2 separate regions of the Homo sapiens genome follow, and region 2 is linked to region 1. Evidence: promoter capture Hi-C in 16 types of primary human blood cells and fetal thymus (Javierre and others, 2016). All regions are on one chromosome and are shown on one strand. The core of a region is centred on a gene start or on the middle of the fragment in contact, and the rest is flanking DNA. Distances in the headings are between cores, read along the strand shown. Region 1 holds the start of REL (REL proto-oncogene, NF-kB subunit). Region 2 has its middle 69 kb from the start of RTN4.

What was found. Contacts are between HindIII fragments. The CHiCAGO score rates a contact against its expected background, and 5 or more counts as called.
Region 2: a contact is called between a fragment that was not itself captured here and the fragment with the promoter of REL in region 1, in 1 of 17 cell types (M0 macrophages). The highest score is 9.1, in M0 macrophages.

Annotation. Positions count from the first base shown.
Region 1 is chr2:60,879,625-60,882,851 of GRCh38, forward strand. It overlaps REL (REL proto-oncogene, NF-kB subunit), which reads left to right and starts at 1,950. Exons shown (of 10, transcript NM_001291746.2): 1 at 1,950-2,226. The coding sequence starts at 2,217. REL-DT (REL divergent transcript) reads right to left here and starts at 1,690. Exons shown (of 3, transcript NR_033980.1): 1 at 1,608-1,690. RefSeq lists a silencer at 1,545-2,084 and an enhancer at 1,693-2,362. The HindIII fragment of the contact is 7,860 bases long and covers 1-3,227 here.
Region 2 is chr2:55,118,298-55,121,534 of GRCh38, forward strand. It overlaps a transcript of RTN4 not described here. Among named protein-coding and RNA genes, the nearest start is that of RTN4, 69 kb to the left of the region's middle. The HindIII fragment of the contact is 1,385 bases long and covers 1,120-2,504 here.

The DNA of each region.
Region 1 (3,227 bases), core at 700-3,199:
CAGGCTGGAGTGCAAGTGGCATGATCTCGGCTCACCGCAACCTCCGCCTCCCAGGTTCAAGCAATTCTCTACCTCAGCCTCCTGAGTAGCTGGGGTTACAGGCGCCCGCCACCACGCCTGGCTAATTTTTGTATTTTTAGTAGAGACGGGGTTTCACCATCTTGGCCAGACTGGTCTTGAACTCCCAACCTCGTGATCCACTTGCCTCAGCCTCCCAAAGTGCTGGGATTACAGGCATGAGCCACTGCGCCTGGCCGGCTCTTTCTTAAACTGAGGACTCAGCTCAAATGTCACCTCCTCAGAACTTTCCTCTCCCCCAGTCACTTTTCATTTTGAAATTCCTTCAGAGAACTGAAAATGTTTTCCGTCTCTTTGAAATGTATGTACATATTTTAAAAAGCTAAATAAGCCTCTTGCTAGTTTTGCGTCCTCAGAAGGTCTTTCTTGCGGGCCTCGGAGCCATCTCTTGGAAATGTGAACATCAAGGATGGTGCTCCATGTTTCTGTCTCTAGGAGGGTTTAAGCCTTGGCTCTTGGTTCCAAGATAACTTCCCATTATTTTCCTTTGGATAAAGACAATTAATAGGTATGTAATGGATTGTACGTGCCTGACCATATGAAAAGGTGAGATTTCCTTTTTTTTGGTCTTTGCACTCTCTTCAGTGGATTGCCTGTGATGTGCATCATGGTACGTTTTAGTACATATCCAATAATAAAACTGTTTCATTCTTTTGTTGTACATTGCGCATTTCGTGGAAAGAACAGTTTGGGGTTGGCAGGATATTTTAAATTATTTGCCCATATGGGTCCCCCAGTTTTGGGCACTTGTATGGCAGGCTGATATTCCCCATTACCTCTCCGTACTAATTTTAACTAGTAAGGGACAGGGGCAAGGGCATGGAGCTTTGGAGTCAGACAACCCTGGCTTTAAACTGTGCCTTTTATCAGCATTCTGAAGTACTGTATGTTGAAGTAACTTCTCTGAACCCCGAATACTTCATCTATAAAGTTAGGAATAATAAATACGTCATAGATTAAGTATGGACATTATCTGATGCATAGCAGGTACTATTCAAATGAAGGAAACGAAGTTATCCTAGGTCCTTTAATGCACTAAATGTGTGCTCCATTTCCGCCTTTCTTGGCATCTGTGTGAAATCTCAGGATATAGTGTCCACTAAACTTCAGTGCACTGCCTAATGAGACAACGAACTCCAAGTGCGGACCTTTTGAGTTTAAACGGGTTTCAGTAGGTAAAATACGTAAAGTTCACAGTACCCTCGCAATTTAGATGGAGGAAAAAAAATCAGTCGGGGGGGGGGTCCCCGTATGCAAATACAGGAATTACAGAAGAAGACAGGACCCCCGCCGCAGCACCACTTCCCCCTACAGGGCGCAACGTCCCGCCGCTGGCGCGGGGGTGGAGATTTGCATGTGCGAAGTCGGGAAGAGGGGGAACCACCTCTCGAAAACCCCGGCCGTCGCCCTCCCAGGCCGGGAGAGTCGGCCCCGCGCGCCCCCAAAAGCTCCCCAGCGGCCGGCCCTCTCTACGTCATCCGCACCCTCCCGCCCGCTCCTGAACTTTAAACCACACTCGGAAGAACAACCTGGAGGAGGGGGATTTCTCAGGAGCCAGCGGCCTTCTCACGCTGCTAGCCGTCACCTCCCGGCTCCCGCCGTTCCCTGCGCTCCCGAAGCCCACCCCAAGCTCCCGCTCCCTCGACCCCCTCCCAAGCCAGCCGCCGCAGCAGCGCCGGGGGCGTATGCGTGGGGGCCGGCGGGGAGCGTGCGCGGGGACAGGCAGGGGCGGGGCGCTGGGGGCGGTCGCGCGCGCGGCGGCCGCGAGGTCGCCCCGCCCACGCCTCCGGGTGAGGGTTGCTGCGTCGGGCCTACGTCAGCCGCGGGAAATTCCCCTCCCGCCAGGCTGCTCGCCTCTCGGCTGGGCCAGCACTCGGCTCTCCCCGCTCCGCCCCCTGCCCCTGGCTCCCGTACGGTGGACGGCGACGCTGGGTGACCCGGGGTGCAAGAATTCAGGGGTTGGGAAGGTGTGAGCCGCAAACCCAGCGGAGGGCGGGAAGAAGGAGGAGGCCTCTAGGGTGGTCGGGGGACTGGGGGCCCCGCCGGCAGAGGTCCCTCGGCCTCCTGACTGACTGACTGCGGCCGCCTCCGGCCAGGACGCTGGGAGCTGCCTGCGGGAAGGTGCGGGGAGCGGAGCCATGGCCTCCGGTGAGTGTTCATGGGGCGCGGGCCTGGGCCGGGGGAAAGGAGCTCTTCTGAAGGGGGTCCTGCCGCAGTGAGTTTAGGGAGCTCAGTTTTTGCTGGGGCGCGTTCTGTCTTTAAAATCTCATATGGTAAAATTGTCAGCTTTTAAAAAAGTTACCTGCTTCAGGGTTTGCGTGCAGAATCCAAGCCACGCTCTGTAATTCGATCCTGTTGTCATAGCAGGAACCTTAGAAATTCCCAACGACTTGATTTTAGGATTAGGGAAGTCATAAGCGAACCAAAGGAGGACGAAGAGTTCTCATTAAAAATGTATATGTATTGAAGATGGTGGTTTTATGTTTTAGAACAGGAATGAGGAACCTTCAGACCTCGGGCAAGCTCTCTCCCCCTTTTTAGTTTAATTTCATCAAATGCAAAGAGGTGATCCCCCTTGTACTGACAGTTGTACAAAATGTGTCACGGCTTTAAAAATCATCCGTGGTATTTTAACACGAATTAGAAAATCCGTGGTATTTTAAGTGTTAATGTTGCTTCGACCAAGTGTAGGCCGGGCGCGGTGGCTCATGCCTGTATTCCCAGCACTTTGGGAGGCCGAGGCGGGTGGATAACCAGAGGTCAGGAGTTTGAGACCAGCCTGGCAAACATGGTGAAACCCCGTCTCTACTAAAAATACAAAAATCAGCGGGGCGTGGTGGCGCGCGCCTGTAATCCCAGCTACTCGGGAAGCTGAGGCAGGAGAATCGCTTGAACCTGGGAGGTGGAGGTTGCAGTGAGCCGAGATCGCGCCCCTGCACTCCAGCCTGGGCGACAGAGGGAGACCCTGTCTCTATTTAAAAAAAAAAAAAATGTAGTTTTTACTGTGAGATAAAGCTCAAGGTTCCTAATCTGACGAATAGAGACGTTGAATCCCCCTTCCTCCTCGCTGGAAATAAGGGGAAAGAGGAGTTTTAGAATATCCGAGCTTTAAAATAATGAGTAGGAATGAATACAACTTTATCACTTAT
Region 2 (3,237 bases), core at 562-3,061, 5.8 Mb before region 1:
CTACAAATATTTTAAAAATTAGCCAGGAGAAGTGGTGTGCCCCTGTAATTCCAGCTACTTGGGAGGCTGAGTTGGGAGGATCGCTGGAGCTCAAGAGGTCAAGGCTGCAGCGAGCTGTGTTCACACCATTTCACTACACCCTGGGCAATGGAGCAAGACCCTGTCTCAAAAAAAAAAGACACCCAGGAAGAAGTTTCACATGATAAAGGGTATAGAATATGGTCCTCTGCTTCTAGTGGACAGACTATTGAATCTAGTTCACGATTCTTTTGTAAAACAATCCTCCCTGCCCCCCAAAACACACTCACACACATGCACAAACTCCCTCTCAACTTTATCAATTATCTGTGTCAAGTTGAATCTTCACCAAACCAGGAGTTAAGTCTAGTGGATTCTGAAGCCATGCAACCAGCCATCAGTGCAGAGGGAAAAGGACAGAAAGGCCCTAGCTCATGGAACCCTGAAAAGAGACTGCTCTCTAATGCAGATGAGGACGCAACCGTTCTGTTCCCTGCTGTTCTGATTGCTATCAGGCTTCAACCATCAGATATGGGTCCCTGACAATTTATCAGGAAGCAAGCAGCCTGCCTTTTCTCCTGTCTAAATTCTGCATTCTATTTCCTTGTATTCTACACAAAATGCAAAACAGCAGCTAAAAATAGAAGCTGAGGTGCTAGTGAGGCTGATTTGTGTGTGAAGAAGGCAGAGAGATATCGGGGGAAGAATTCAGAGGAGAGCTGCCTGGGGCCCCTTCCTGAGCTGTCACAGACAGCAGCCTGGAAAAGAAATACAAGGGAAGGAGACAGAGGTGGGAGGCTGGATGGACTGCCCAATTATTACACCTGCAGAGAATCCTTGCGGGTTTTTTGGGCTCCCTAAAAGCGCCCTGACCTATTTTTTGAAACGTTTTTTTCCTTATTCGTCAAAATACATTCTCAGTGAATTGCAGTCAAGTTTCCTGCAATTACTCAATCTAAAGTTTTGTTTTCTACACTGGGAGCTATAGTCTATGCCTCTACGTATAATGGTAATATACTCAACAGTACCAGGCTGACGATGGATAGGGTGAATTTCTTAAAGTGGCAGGGAAGCTGCAGTTTTAAATGAATCCACCTGAAAAGCTTTGAACAAAGCCTTGAGTCTATTTAAGAACAGAGAGCTCGTGTGATAGCTGGCTGGCTTCATCCCTTAGATAGGGGACACAGACTTATTGGATGCAAGTATAAAAGCCTTATAGTAGAAGTAAATTTCATAATGCCTTGGATTTATAGAGCACTTTTCTTCATAGAACTTGTATTCTCTGGGCAGAGTGACCAGCCCAACTTGGAATCTCGCTTAGCCATAGTGAAAATGATGAAAGTATTACAGGGGGCAAAAAAGCAAAAGATCAGGGAGAGAAGTCAATAGTTCCCCAGGGATCTCCCAGGGCAACCTTGCTCCCAGACTGCTGGAGCACCACTAGGATCTAGGGCATGTGGTTTCCACAACCACCTCCTCCTCCCTCATGTCATAGGGCTGTTGAGAAAACGGGATTAGCTACATGGCCAACCCATAATTATGCAGGGGTGGAGGAGTCAGACCATTGACCAGCTGGCTTCTCATTTCTCCTTCTCTCAGCTGCTCACCAGCCTCAGATGCAGGAGGGTGAAGATGGGATTCCCAGAACACCTCTCCATTTGCTCCCATGAACTGGAAAAAAGCGCAGTCATTGCAAGTGACTGTAAAATGCAAACCCATGCCTCGCTGTGGGCTGCGTGAGGCCCAGACTGGCCCACGGCACTGAGAGGTGGGGTGGGTGAATGATTCCCATGCCCACTCTGGACACCCAGGCCTTGCCTTGGCAGAACCTAAGGAGGGGCTGAACAGCACAGCCGCATCTCTGAAGAAAGCAACCCTGTGTCACCCCAGGCAGATGCTGAGGCCGAAGGAAGCAAAGGTTCTTAGAAGGAAAGCAATGCTTCCTGCCCCCCTCACTTTAGCTCTCCGAAGCCACTTTTCCCAGCAGGTTTCCCCCTATCTCCAGCTCACCAGGGTGGGCACAGACAGAAGGAAACTCCTGGCTGGGCACCCTGGCAGGCTCAGGGAAACTAGAGCCCAGGCTTGGGCCCTGCCTTGCCAACCTTCCTCCGGCCCAGGCTTTACAACGGGCCCTTCCTCCAAGCTGGGGCTGGCCCCCAAACCTCTCACTGTCCCTCCATTCTGCTTGTCCCCTTTCAACTGCTCAGCAGTCAGAAGACGAGCAGGAGATCTTTAACAACTTGAACCTGACCAAATTAAGTTTGAGATGGTTTAAATAAATGTCCAAATGAGTTTTCTACATTTCTATGCTTTCTCTAACTCCCATTCTCAAGCAAGTGAAAAAATGTCTCTGAGTGAAGCCCTCAAGCTCTGACTGAGAATATAATGTTGTTATTATTAGAGCAACGGGGAAGGAGACATGCCATCTCCAGGCAGGGCTCGGGCGGGCTGTGTGGGAGGCGACTGTCAGCAGCTGTTGGGTGGAAAGCTTATTTATTGTCAGCAGCCTGGCTCAGAGATTAAGAAAAGCTCGGGTCTCCGGCTTACACACACATAGCTGCAGGCAGCAGCTGCTCCAGACATGGCATTCAACCACAGGGGTCCCCAGGGTCTCCTTTCAGGGTTAACTTGACCAATAAGGAAACCCTGGTGGCCACCAGGACAGCTGGAAAAATTCCCATGGGGCCACAGAACCAAATACCCCCAATAAAAATGTTCAGCATCCAATGCCTTCGCCAGACTAAACCCAAGAACCCAGAATCAGCCTTGAATCCCACACAACAGCAACAGCTCTATGTCCTGAGACTGTTTTCCAGTCATTCACCAAATACTTATTGTGCAGTGTCTGACAGACACCATACATGGGACTGGAAATAGACCAATGAATGAGACAGTCAGTCCCGATCCCTGCTCTCAGGGAGCTCACAGTCTGGTAAAAATTACCTGCAGTTAAACTGGTAAAAAATCTTGTGTTGAGTATTATGATAGAGGAAGCTCAGGGAGCTATGAGTACAACATCAGGAAAAATCTAACTGACCACAAGGAATTGCCCTGGTAAGAAAACCATCACTAAGAGATACTGTGAAGTTTGGGATTAGGGTCTCAAGAGACGTCAGCCCAAGACCATTACCACTATTTCTCCTTCTTCAGCTAATTAAACTTTTAGCTAATATCTACCCATTTGATTCATGTTCTGTTTATTACCAGTCTGTTGAACAG